Regions from separate parts of the Homo sapiens genome. Here regions 1 and 2 are each linked to region 3. The links are contacts of gene promoters, found by promoter capture Hi-C in blood cells and fetal thymus (Javierre and others, 2016). All regions are on one chromosome and are shown on one strand. Each heading gives the region's core, a stretch centred on a gene start or on the middle of the fragment in contact. The rest is flanking DNA. Distances are from core to core; before and after follow the strand shown. Region 1 overlaps WDR7 (WD repeat domain 7). Region 2 overlaps TXNL1 (thioredoxin like 1). Region 3 holds the start of STARD6 (StAR related lipid transfer domain containing 6).

What was found. Contacts are between HindIII fragments. The CHiCAGO score rates a contact against its expected background, and 5 or more counts as called.
Region 1: a fragment that was not itself captured here is called in contact with the fragment with the promoter of STARD6 in region 3 in 1 of 17 cell types (total B cells); the score reaches 5.5 in total B cells.
Region 2: a contact is called between a fragment that was not itself captured here and the fragment with the promoter of STARD6 in region 3, in 2 of 17 cell types (total B cells and fetal thymus). The highest score is 5.4, in total B cells.

The regions. Positions count from the first base shown.
Region 1 is chr18:56,700,904-56,705,480 of GRCh38, forward strand. The region is part of intron 12 of WDR7 (WD repeat domain 7); the gene reads left to right. Among named protein-coding and RNA genes, the nearest start is that of WDR7, 52 kb to the left of the region's middle. The HindIII fragment of the contact is 2,236 bases long and covers 210-2,445 here.
Region 2 is chr18:56,626,712-56,631,350 of GRCh38, forward strand. All of the region lies in intron 1 of TXNL1 (thioredoxin like 1), which reads right to left. Among named protein-coding and RNA genes, the nearest start is that of TXNL1, 9.6 kb to the right of the region's middle. The HindIII fragment of the contact is 7,386 bases long and covers 1-4,639 here.
Region 3 is chr18:54,354,902-54,359,379 of GRCh38, forward strand. STARD6 (StAR related lipid transfer domain containing 6) reads right to left here and starts at 2,957. Exons shown (of 8, transcript NM_139171.2): 1 at 2,891-2,957; 2 at 1,460-1,543. It overlaps C18orf54 (chromosome 18 open reading frame 54), which reads left to right and starts at 3,005. Exons shown (of 9, transcript NM_001288980.2): 1 at 3,005-3,174; 2 at 3,873-3,969. RefSeq lists enhancers at 3,509-4,020, 3,522-3,591. The HindIII fragment of the contact is 3,120 bases long and covers 1,820-4,478 here.

The sequences.
Region 1 (4,577 bases), core at 78-2,577, 2.3 Mb after region 3:
CAGTATTGATTCGTTGAATAGTCTGGTTAACTGATATTTAGCTTTTACCTGATACGGATTATTTTAAAGAATTAAAATGTAAGAAAATTAAAAAATCTGAAGGTACCCTTTAAGATATAAAATTTTGAAATAATTCAGGATTGTGTAGTTCTGAAGGGTTATTGAGAACAGTTGAGGAAGTAATGTGTTTAAATGTTCCAAGAAATATAAGCTTACATTTTAGAAGGAGGATAAGGTAAGTATTTAAGCCTGGTACAGGCAGACTATAAATCACAAATGTTTTGGTGATGATGGCAAGGGCGTATTATAGGTACCCAGAGAAACAAGGAGCTTTGGTAAACTACTTGAAAAGACCTGAGAGGTTTGACTAACTACATATTGACTTCTTGAGAGGTGTTGGAATCTGTGGTTTTGAGGTTTCTAATATTAGGTTATTTGCCATTTCTGTTTTTTTAAGAGTATATAAAGGTTCAGTTTCTTGATAAAACAAACTACTATATATCATTTGCTTGAAATAAAGCTGTTCACAGTATAAAAATTATATGACAGATATAAAGTCCTATACCATTTTTATCATTCCAAGTTATGTTTATTATTTTTAAATGAGTGGTTTTCTCATGATTTATTGCTATTCAGATGTGACAGTTCTTATGAATTTTAATAGGATTCAAATTTAAACTCGAGCTTTTTATGTTGTTATTAAATTATATTGCCACTTCAAATATTAGATATAGGAGATGTATTAGAAACTTTTTTTTAAAAACAGCTAAAATTTAAACTGGGCTATTAACTTTTCATCTGTACTTGGACTGTTTACTATGGTACCTTAAAATATTTCATAAATAGGTAGTGATGCACATAGTATAAAATGCAAAAGGTATAAATATTACTAAGGAAGTGCAAGTCTCCCTTTCTCTCCTGTTCTCCAGCTTTTTGGTTCCCTTAACCTTGAGTGCAATGTCTTATTAATCCTTCAGATATTTTCAATTTTACAGTGTTTTAATGCTTCAGAACTATAGAATATTAGCTTAATTTTATTCTGACAACTACAAAATTTACACAACACAGCGTGGTTAGAGAGAGAATGATTTTCAGATTGGAGTAGTTGTGAGAGGTAGACTTGGGTGAATTAGCAAAATCTGAACTCTGGGATAGGGGAGGCCAAGAGTGTACCAGTTGCCTGGGGAATCTGAAGAGAGCTGGTGAAAGGGAAGGCAGATATTTTTAATGCCTTTGGAGTGCTGCGGCAGGAAACTTCCTCCAACGCTCCATCATTAGAATTATGTAGTTACAGATGAGATGATCTGACATCGTCCCTTCCACCTCCCTCCCAGTTTATTTTACCTTTCCCTGTTGCTTATCGTTCTCCTTTTATTATAGATTTTAGCTTTAAAGAGTCTATTGTCCAAGATCCAGGCACTTTTTCTTGTATTTCCACATAGGTTACTCTTAGAGAAAGAAACTAGGTTTTGGAAAAAATACTGAGGGAATAAAATTATTTTAATATATCAAGAGTACGTTATAAAACATTTTCCTTAACAAACCAGATAGATATGATTGACAGCAGTGAAAATTCATGAATTAAAAAATAACACTAATCACCCAGTATAATATTGCCAACTTATTGAATTGTGGTGATATTTTACATGAAACTATCCATATTTTCTTAGTTGATTTTCAATTGTGGTAGGTAGCTGGATTTAGAAGTACAGTTTGTGGTATGAAACCTTTGTGTGTGTAATACAGTGTGATACCATTTATTTACATTTTAAAAACACAAATCCATACTGCATATTTTTGGATACATGTATAGGTAGTAAAAATATTAAAACCGAAGGGAAAGCTAGTGCCAAATTCAGACCCTGGTTTACTTTTGAGAGTGAGAGGAAGGAGTAGGGAAACTTATTAAAGTGTCATGTTTTATTTACTTTTAGTATTATAGCTATTTAATATTTACTATTTATTTTCCTCATTTACATTGACGATTAAATTCTCAGAGCTGTCTTTCTGTTGTTAGAATTATTCAGAACAGAAGTTTTCGAAAATGCCGAAAAATAAACTGTTTAGTACCAGTGATATGTTTCTACATGTAAGCATATAGGCTAAGTTCTTTAATATATTAGTTAAAGAATGAATACTTTTTGTTTAATTTATCATATTAAACTTTTGGTCACGTAATCTCCAAAAATACCCAGAAGGGGGCAGCATGGATTTGTGAAAACAGGAATGTGCGTCATCTAACCTGAACACTAGTGTTTGTGCCTTCAATTGACAGTATTAAAACCAGTATTAGATTCCCGGCTCCTAGAAACAGGTATGCTAATATGAATGGAACACGTGACTGTGTGTATACCAGTGTGGCTAATGTTCACAGCCAGTAAGGGCAATTGACAAATTAGATATTCTTTTTAATATATCATACTATTATTCTGACAAAGTACTGAAAGCTTTTGCCTGAATTTGCTCTTATCTCCCATTTTTGATTCTAGATTTTTGTTATTAATTTAATTTGAATATTGCATTTAAAAAGCAATGTCTATACCTATAGCTTAATATCTGAAGTCAAGCAGAGCAAACTTTGTGAATACAAACTAAGCAAAAACAGGAAGCAGAACTAACATTATTTTCTTAAAATACAATGTACATAATGTTCTGTGTCATCCTTTTTCCTTTAACACTTAATTCTCTTTGATTTTGAGAACATTTTCATATATTTTTATGTATTTGGCACCATCTTTTTGATATTAATTTTATTTTTAAAAATTAAATAATACATAGTTATAGAAAATAGAGATATTTTCTAAAGACATCATATTTGTCACTAAGAATATTCCTACAACATCATTTTAAATGATACTCTGTAATTCATTTTTATTGGACATTTTAGAATGTTGCTTTAAAGTTTTTTTTTTTGCCTGTTATCAACGGTGGGAATGATAATTAGTACAGCTAAATATTTTTGTAGCTCTAGAATGGTTTCTTAGGATAAGTTCTTATACTTGGAGTTGCTATAAAAAAGGGCATATTAATTTTTAAAGGCTTTTGAACAGGTATTGTCAAATTGCTCTTCAAACAATGAGGAATAGGTTTGTACAGTCACCATTTTACTACCGTAATCCTTCATCATCCTGTTTATAATCTTTTAAGCCTTGCTAATTTTCTAGTCTTGAAAGCAGCTGTATGTAGAGCATATGTAACTATAGCTCTCACGTTCATTTTAAAGCACAAATGTATTAATATTACCAATACTATATTAGTTGTACATTCTGGTTGGTTTTATATTCTTGATAATTTTATGTTTTCCAAATTTGTACTACTATTCTATACTATTGTTTAAAGATAAAAAGTTGAGGCTGAGCATGGTGGCTTACACCTGTAATTTCAACAATTTGAGAGGTCAAGCTGGGAGGATCACTTGATGCCAGGAGTTCAAGACCAGCCTGGGCAACATAGTGAAACCCTGTCTCTATCAAAAAAGAAAAAAAAAAAGCTGGGTTTGGTGACATGGGCATATAGTTCTAGCTACTTGGGAGGCTGAGGTGAGAGGATTGCTTGAGCCCTGGAGTTCAAGGCTGCAGTGAGGCATGATTGCGCCATTACACTCCAGCCTAGGTGACAGAGTGAGACCCTGTCATGCTATGAATATTATGTATACATTCAAATATTAGGTTGTGCAAGTAATTTTTGTTATTTTAATGGCAAAACTGCAATTTAATGTCTTACACCTGTCTCTTGTGTAGGAGGCCAGAAAACTCAGTGCTAAGGGACTGGCAGTGAGAGGCCCCTTTAACAGTAATGAGAAAGACTGCATCCTTAGCTGACTGTGCTGATATCATGCCAAACATTTTAAAAAATTAGAAATTCTTACATTTTGGAAAGATTCCTTAAAATCTTAAATCATATTGCTGATTAGGCATGAAATTTACTTTTAATAATGGTCAGAAGTGATTTCATGCTAAACCTAGTGAATGAAGTAGCTGATTAAATTGACTTTTTATTTTGGACTGGAGAGAAAGTATTACACAACAACTAATTTTTCTTGAGTAACACAATCATAGGACAATTTCAAAATGAGTTTACATTTCATTTTTTTAATTTAATTTTTGTTTTTTAGAGATGAAGTCTTGCTATGTTGCCCAGGCTGGCATTGAACTCCTGGCCTCAAGTGATCCTCCTATCTTGGCGTCTTAAAGTGCTAGGATTACAGGTGTGAGCCACCATGCACTGCTCTCTATATTTTTAAATGGCAAAAATTGCTAGGAAGAAATGAATTACCTTTTAAGTGTAGTATTCAGTTTGGTGCAACATATTTTTGATTAGACATTCATTGGGCAAATATCTGACTATCTGCCATATTTCAGGCACTTTCTAGAACCAGAGATAGGGATAAGATATCTTTTTTTTTTTTGTAATATTTAGTCTAATGAGGGAGCCAGACCAGCAAACAGCAGTTATAAAGGAGTATGATAAATCTTATGGAAAGGGGTTTTTCAAAGCCCTCAGGGAGTACATAGGGCACTTAGGAAGTCTACTTTGGGTGATTTTGGAAGACTTTAAGGAAGGTCAATATATATGAT
Region 2 (4,639 bases), core at 808-3,307, 2.3 Mb after region 3:
GTCTCGAACTCCTGACCTTAGGTGATCCACCTGCCTTGGCCCCTCCCAAAGTGCTGGGATTACAGGCGTGAGCCACCAAGCCGGTCTTTTTTTTTTTTTTTTTTTTTTTTGGAGACAAGGTCTCATTCTATAACCCAGGCCAGAGTACAGTGGCATGATCATGGCTCACTGCAGTCCCAATCTTCCAGGCTCAAGCAATCCTCCCACCTCAGCCTTCCAAGTAGCTGCAACTACAGGTGCATGCCACCACACCCAGCTACCAAGCTACATTTTTTTTTTTTTTGAGAAGCAGGGTCTCACTATATTGCCCAGGCTGGTCTCAAACTCCTGGGTTCAAGTGATCCTCCTGCCTTGGGCCTCCCAAAGTGCAGACATTACAGGCATGAACCATAACCCTAGGCCTGATTCTCTGGTCTATTTGAGTAAGTTATTTACATATACTTGTATCAATACTATACTGTCTTAATGAGCCCAGATGTTACATTTAGTCTTCATAACTAATAGTGTTAAGTCTTCTAGCTTTGTTCTCACTGAGAGAAATTAAAGAAAACCTAAATAAATGGAGGAATTTACTCTGCTTATGAATTTGAAACTCAATATTGCCAAGATACCAATTTTACTCAATTTGATCTTTACAACTGATGTAAGATCTCAGCAGGTTTTCTTGTAGAAATTAACAAATTTCCATTCTAAAAATTATAGAGAAATGCCAAGGACAGCCCAAGTCGTTTTGAGGTTCTAATCTGAAAAAATTATATTATCAGATCTTAAGAACTATCATAAACCTTTATTAAGAGAATATAGTACTTGTACAAGAATAAGCAAAATGATCAAATCAGTTTTCCTTTGAAAGAAGAGTCTAGAAACAGACCCATCTCACATACAGTACTCTGATGTCTGAAAAACTTGATGTAGCATTGCAGTGGGAAAAGGATGGTCTTTTCAATAAATACTGCTAGATCAACTATATACTCATACAGGAAAAGAAATGAATCTCAACACACCATACACAAAAACCAATTCCAGATGGGTTGTAGATCTAAATGTAAAAGGTGAAACAAGGAGGGTTTTAGGAAAAAATACAGGAAGACACTTTCAAAACCTCAAACTAAGCAATGATTTCTTATACAAAACACAAGAAGTACTAAAAAAAAAAAAAGGTTTGACAGACTGGACTATATTTGATAAACTGGAAGATTAAAACCTTTTATTCATCAAAAAATGTCTTTAAGAGACTAGGAAAAAGTATTTGCAAAACATATCAAACAAAGGACTTATACTTCTAATACGTAAAGAACTCCTACAAAACAAGGAGAAGACTGAAACCCAAAAGAAAAAGAATGAACCCTTGAATAGGTACTTGACAAATGAGATTATCCAAACAGTCAATAAATAAAGTCAAAAACTTTCTATAAAGCAGGAAAGATGTTCTACTTCATTAGTCATCAGGGATACCCGGGAAATGCAGATTAAAACCAACTCAGCAAAAATAGCTACAAGAAGAATTAAGTATTGTCAAGAATGCAGAGCAACTAAACTTTTATATACTGTGAGAGTGCAAGCTGGTATTAACCATTTTGGAGGGAAAAAAACCAAACTGCTAAAATACACCAACCCATCAAAATTCCTGGGGAATACATCTAAGACACATGTTCACCTTAGAACATTTGAAAAAGTATTATTAGTAATAGTTCTAAGAGTCAAAAATCAGAAACAATTAAATTCTTATCAACAAAAGAATGGGTAAGCTAATTATAGTTATACAATGAAATACTACACAATAATGAAAATAACTGGTATAAAACCTCTTGCAAAAACATGGATGAACCTCACAAATAACATTGAGGAAAGAAAGCAACTACTAGCATATACTATATGACTACATACAGTTCAAATACAGACAAAACCAATCAATGGTATCAGAAATCAAGACAATGGTTACCTTAGTGAGTTACTGATAGAATAAGACTTCTGGAGGCTAGCAATGTTTTGTTTGTCTGGAAGCTGATTAAATAGGTGTGTTCAGTTTGTGAAAATTAATTGAACTATACATTTCTAATTGTGTGCCATGTATGTCTCAATAAAAGTTTGCAGAAATAAGAAATGCAAGAAAAAGCAAATCTAATGCACAAAATAAAAACAAATGTTAAAACTCAAGTTGTGATCAACTCCACATTCTTAACATTTCAATCAGCATTTCACCTTGTGTTATCCTGAAAGCCATACACCAAAAATCTAAGAAAATAATATTTACAGTCAACTAAAATTAGTCTTAAACTTTATAAATGGGAATATATATCACTACACTGTTTTTCAAAGGCCACTGATTGGGTCATATCTATTCATTTTAGATGAACACAAGCCAAGACCCAATAATTGCCCTTTTGAAAGTCTATTCCATTTTAACAACACTTACTCTATTTCACAATAACATGTAGTATAAGGAAGTTCAATGTAACATGTTTGTAATAGTAAAGTTAGAAAACAACTTAAATGGCAATTAATGGAAAACTAGTTTAAAAAGTTATGACAGGGGCCAGGCACGCTGGCTCACGCCTATAATCCCAGCACTTTGGGAGGCCAAGATGGGCGGATCACTTGAGTCCAGGAGTTCTAGATCAGCCAGGCCAACATGGTGAAACCCCATCTCTACTAAAAATACAAAAATTAGCCAGGCATGGTGGCGCATGCCTGTAATCCCAGCTACTCAGAAGGCTGAAGCAGGAGAATCACTTGCACCCGGGAAGCGGAGGTTGCGGTGAGCCAAGATCACACCACTGCACCCCAGCCTGATACTTTGCAGTGTTTAGGGGGGAAGAAAGTCTCATTATAAAATGTTCTCTAGGATCACATTTCAAACCTATGTATATATATAAATGCATAGGGGGTAAAAAGACAGAGACAGGCACAATGAACAGTTAGTATCCATAATTCTGCATCCTTTGCTTTTTTGTGATGAATAGGTATTTTCATTTTAAAATATTAAATGAGTTGAGAAGAATTTAGTGTTAACTGCATTTACACAGGTGTCACAAATTACAGAGGTATCCATTCTATAGTACAATATATCCATTCATGAAAACCACCCTCCTGCAAAAACACACACCAAAAAGAGAGAATTTATGGGAAAAATAAGTTTGTTGGCAAACTACTTGAAACCCATGCAATTTTGTAACAAGATCAGTAAGAAAGATAGTAACCAGACTGGGCCCGATGATGGCTCATGCCTGTAATCTCAGCACTTTGGGAGGCCAAGGCAGGTGGATCACTTTAGGGTGGGAGTTCAAGACCAGCCTGGCCAACAAGGTGAAACCCCATCTCGACTAAAAGTACAAAAATTAGCCAGGCGTGATAGCGGATGCCTATAGTCCCAGCTATTCGGGAGGCTGAGGAAGGAGAATCACTTGAACCCGGAAGGTTGTAGTTAAGCCAAGGTCACCAAGATCGTGCACTCCAGCCTGGGCAACAGAGCAAGACTCCAACTTGGAAAAGAAAAAAAAAAAAAAAGACAGTAACTAGGATTCAGGAAAAAGATGGACATCCCAGCATGTGGCTCAGAGCTGGAAGCGACCTTGGGGAATATTTGAAAAGAACAAAATCAACTGGAAATGATGCTTACAGGTGTTGTGACAAAGCAGACTGAAGTGGAGCTCTGAGCCAGTGGGGCTGCCATTAAGGAAGGGACAGGAGAAAATGCAACACTGAAAATAAACCCTTCTGGGGAACAAACGCTAGGTGTAGGCACTCTTATTTAACTTCATTAACTTTCTTAAAATAAACAAGAGAGGGAATTTGCCTGTGTGGCTGAGAGCTTTCTGCTTCCAGATGAAGGTTTTATTTCTATTTTTCACTACCTAGGAATAATCACACATGAACCAATACAACTTCCATATCACATTGACATCTCTCTATTCATCAATTATTTACGAGCTAACTGGTGTTACAGACACACATCTTGCAGCTGAACAGACTATTAAAATTATGGTTACTGTGCAAAAAACTGTTTCAAGATTTAACTTTATCTAGATTCTTTAATTTCAGTTAGCCATCAGAGGTTGGAACTTTGGTCAAAAATCAAAATGCATCAGCAGAGAAGCATAAATATATACAAACTCACAAATATATACAGCAGCACACTTTCACAAAACAATCATTCAAATAAATCGATCATTTTCTTTTTTCTTTTTTTTTTTAGGGTTTCACTCTGTCACCCAGGTTGAGTGCAGTGGCATAATCATGGCTCACTGCAGCCTCATTCCCTCAGGCTCAAGTGATCCTTCCACCTCAGCCTCCCAAGCAGCTGAGACTACAGGCACGTGCCACCATACCCTGCCAATTTTTGATGTTTTGAAGACACGAGGTCTGCCTATGTTGCCCAGGCTGGTCTCAAACTCCTAGACTCAAGTGATTCTCCCACCTCAGCCTCCCAAAGTACTGGGATTACAAGTGTGAGCCACTGTGCCCAGCCAATTGATCATTTTACATAAGATGTCTGTCTCCTTAACAGGAGCAGTTGAGAGTAAACAAATTTCCATTAGCTGAGATCATGAACAAGTCACCTGATTTCTCTGTATAAAATAAAAGGACTCTCCAAGGACTTTTCCCAGCTCTACAATATTATGCACCCAGTATGCTTGAA
Region 3 (4,478 bases), core at 1,707-4,206:
AATTAGCGTGAGGATTAGATGAGATGATATGCTTAAGGTTCTATCCAGTGCCTGGCATGCGATAGTCATTCAATAAATAATTTTAATTTCTAACAGTTTAATCACACGTCCTTTGTCTTGTGAAGCATTATGAGCTGTTGGTTATGTGTTCTTGAGGATTATTTAAAGTGCGTAGCAGTGGCACTACACGATCTGACCCCTGGCTTCCTCTTCAAATATACCTCCTACCAGTCTTCTTCTTGTCCACTTAGCTCCAATCATTTGATCTCCTGGCTGTTCCTCACATACAATAAAGCAATTTCTGACTTCAGGTTCTTTGTACTTGCTGTTCCTTCTGCTTGTCACTGTCTTCTGCAATGTGTTCATATAACTGACTGTTTCATAGGTATCTTTGCTTAAATGTCACCTCCTCAGATAGGATCAAGTTTAAATCAACTCAATTTAAACACATTGAACCCTGCTTGAAGTTAGAAACTGCAATGGACTGAATGTTTATGTCTCCCTAAAATTCATATGTTGAAATCCTAACTCCCAGGGTGATATTAGGAGATGATTAGGTCATGAGGGCAAAGCCCTTATGAATGGGATTAGTGCCCTCACAAAAGAGACCCCAGGGAGCTCAATGGCCCCTTCTTCCATGTGAGGACACTGCCAGAAGTTAGCAGTCTGCAACCAGAAGAGGGCCCTCACCAGAACCTAACCATGCTGGCACCCAGATCTCAGACTTCCAGGATCCAGAACTCTGAGAAATAAATTTATTGTTTACAAGTCATTCAGTCTTTGGTAATTTCTTATGGCAGCCCAAAAGGACTGAGACAGGCACTGTGGTAGATGTAGCAACAACAGTTGAGTAAGATACTAGACATAACTATTACTGCTGTGAATGAGTTCCGGAAGCTGCAGTCTCACTGGTCCTTCGGGTCATCATCCAGCTTTCAGTTAGGGGAAGCTGGCAGGTAAGGTGAAAACAGAACTGGATTCAAATCCTGACTTTGTCACTTAGTACAGCTATATTATTTTGGATAAATTGCTTAACCTTTGAACTTCAACTTCCATATCTATAGAATGGGGATAATAATATCTATCTCACCGAATCATTATAAGGATTAGTTGAGTTAATATATGTAAAAATGCTTTAAACAGTGTGGAGCCCTATACTAGGTTATCAAAATAGTTAGTTTCTCTTTAAAAAAATGGACACATATAAATCCATCATTTAAAAAACTCTCCAAAGATCTGCTTCCTTAAGCACTTAAATAAACCTTCTTAAAGTTTAATTATTGGAACATTTCTTCCTTAGCTCTCACTTAAAACTCTTCAGGTTGGATCATAAATCTATTTTCTCTTATTTAATTCTCCAGCAAGGCACAACAGGTAGTTGATAGTCTCTATATTTGAAAAGTTTTAGTAAACCATTATTATAACCTCCTCTTTCCTAGCAGAGTCCTGGTTTCTTTACCTTTCCTGACAGATCTAATGCAGAATTTTAGTAACTACTGGGGCTCCTCTCCAAATCCTTGTGGAAATCTCCATATCTCTTAACCTGTGAGGAAACAAGGCAGAAGTAGAATTATTTTGATCCATGAATTAGGTCAATATATTTGATAATTTTCTTTATATCTTCTCAGTGTCCTTTATCTATACTTTGTCTTCATTAGGAAACATTTGCTACATATATGCCCCAAGATGAAAGAAAAATATAGTACAAAAAACTTTAAAAGATACTGTTTATAAAAAGAATCTTTAAGAAACTATTTTAAAGGAACTCAGTTTAAAAAGACACTTAGGTGGAACGTGGATACAAAAATTTAAGTTTTTAAGCTTACGTCACTAACAATTAACAAGGATTGTTAATCCCCGACCAGGGCTCGTCTTAGCATATAAAACACCGTTCTTGATTTCCTATTGGAAACCTACTTGATATTAATTGATCTAGAGACTTTGAAGATTATTGGGACATACCACTAGCAGGGTATGTCTTATTTTCAAATCACCAACTATTACTGCCACAATAGACCTGTGTTTAACCACTAAACTGAACGTTATAGCTTCCGGACTTTTTCATTTGCTAAGAGAAAAGGGAAGGTAAAATTTAGTAGGCTACAAAGGGTAAAAAGAAGAAAGTGCAAACAGTAAGACTACAATTGTATTACATGGTGGTGGAACGTCGGATGAGCTGGAACATATTCAGATGGACTCATGGTCAAGGATATCTTCACTCATAGGGTCAGTGGAAAATAAACATAAACCAACATTGGGATGGCCTCTTTTTTTGATACACCAATTGGTTGAAACTGGATTCCTTCCAGACTTACAGACAGGTTCACACATGTTAGTGAGTCTTTACATCTGTTTGTACAATGACCCTCTTTCTGAGCTGCCTGACTGGGTCCCCAATCCGTGCGGGGTCACTGCCATTCTTCCCTGGGAATCAAGGCTTCCTAGGAGTTTGTTAAATCCCATCCCTGGCTAAACTCGGGTCTCCAATCTCCCATCTGCTTTGTGTGTGAGAGGCTCCGGGGTGTGAGAGGAAAGGCACTGAAGAGGGAGTGAAAGAAGTGGTGAGGGGGGACTGCCTACTAGCTGAGACGATATCTTATTTTTGGCGGGGGATGCTCTGGAAGCGGGGAGGCTGAACTCACTTGGAAAAACTGGAGCTGTGGGGCAGACTCTCAGCGACCGGAACGACAGCCGCCAGCGCCCTTAAGTCTCCCTCCCCACCCAGTCCCCTCCCGCAGACCCCGGGGCCGGCTGAAGGGAGATCAGCAAGTCCCCGCGCAAACTGGCCGAGAATAGCTGTGACGGAGGTTGGAAGGGCGTGGGGGGCAGCGACTTGGATGCAGCCCACATCCCCCCATTCCCAGCCCCAGAAAGGAGGGAGAAACAGCACCTTCCAGCAGGGGTCGCGACCTAACGCTCAACAGCATCCTCTCTTCTCCGGCCGCTCCCTCATCTCCGCTCGCGCCCGGCGCCCCACTGCCGCGCATGCGCACCGCAGGCCGGCGCCATGTTGGGGCGGTTTGAAAGCGAGCGCGGGTGTCGAGCTCTGCTGTGACTGCGGAGGAAGCTGCGAGTGAGCCGAGCCTGAGGCGGGGCGGTGTCCGGGTTGGGGATGCTTTGTGGTGTCTCGCGTTGGGTAACAGGCCTGAGCTTTCGGCGGAGAGCTGTGGAAGTGTGCGGTTTTTGTTTTTGTTTTCCTTTATTTTTATTTTGGGGCCTTAGGGGTGAGTTAGGACGGAAAGGAGGGTGTCTTTTCGAGGGTTGTCCCATCCTGTGACAGCCGAGAAAAGGCGAAAGGAGAGTGGCGAGGAAAGAGGAGGAGACGTCTCCTGAGGGAGGGCGCTTGTGGAGTCTCTGTGGAAGGAAGAACACTGTAGGGGGAGTGCCCCCTGGGCGAGGGAGGGTCGCGGGACGCGGCGGAGGGGGCTCACACGGGCGTCTGCGGACCTGAGGCGGCGACAGGAAGGGGCTTGCGCTCTGGGGCTGTCGCTTCGGAACACTTCTCCTTCAGTCCATTGCTGCGCTCGCCCTGGCTGCTGAATAAATGGTTTCGGAGTGAAAAGCATCTCACTGAAGAACTTGTCTGTGTCTGTGACTGACGGGCGGTGGAACACCAAAGGGAGGGTGTCGCCTGATTGGGACTGGAAAAATTGGAATTCAGGGCGCCCGGGGTAGGGGAACGATGCGCACTGCTGGAGACGGGCGACCTTCGCTGGCCGGTCGGTGGGTTCCTGGTTTTCTGCTGCCGAGTAAACAAACGTTCCCTTTCCTAACTTAGCAGTCACAGAGCTATTTCCAAGAGTTGTTCTTAATTTCCTGTGCGATATTCCCATTGGCTATTTAACACTGAACATTCTGTTTTTGAATCAAAGTTAGTTAAAATTTGTTGTCAATAAGTTTAACATTCTGTTCTTCCGCGTGATGGATTTTCTTTTGGAGATTCGAACTGAAGCCTGTACGGAGGAAATGGTAAGATATATGGGATTTGCATGAGATATGTGGGGTTCAAAATAATCCTGTGGCTGAAGTGGGGAGAAGTGGGTGGGTCCCTACCCACTTTAGCTACAATTGGGGTCTGTTCAGCGATTGTTGGAAGCAGGATGATGAGTACATAGGGGTTTATTGAACGATTCTACTTTTGTATACTCTTTTGGGGAAAAGTTGGAAAACTTTTCATAATGAAACTTAAATTGTGCATTTTCTTTTTGTCTGTCCTGTGAGTTGAAATAACTAGTAAATGTTATCACCCACTTACGGAGACCAATACAACAGCTTTCTCTTTCAAGGTTTTGTAAAATAAAATCAGTAGCCTGTTCGGCATTCAAAGACAGAAAACATTTGGTCAGGCTTATCCAAACAAATTTACTTGAGTGAGTTTAAACTTCTTTAAATAAAAGGGATACGAAAAAGGTAAAGCTGGCTTAGTTTAGCCATTCGTCAGAGATATACCAGTATTACAGAATTCAGATAAATCAATG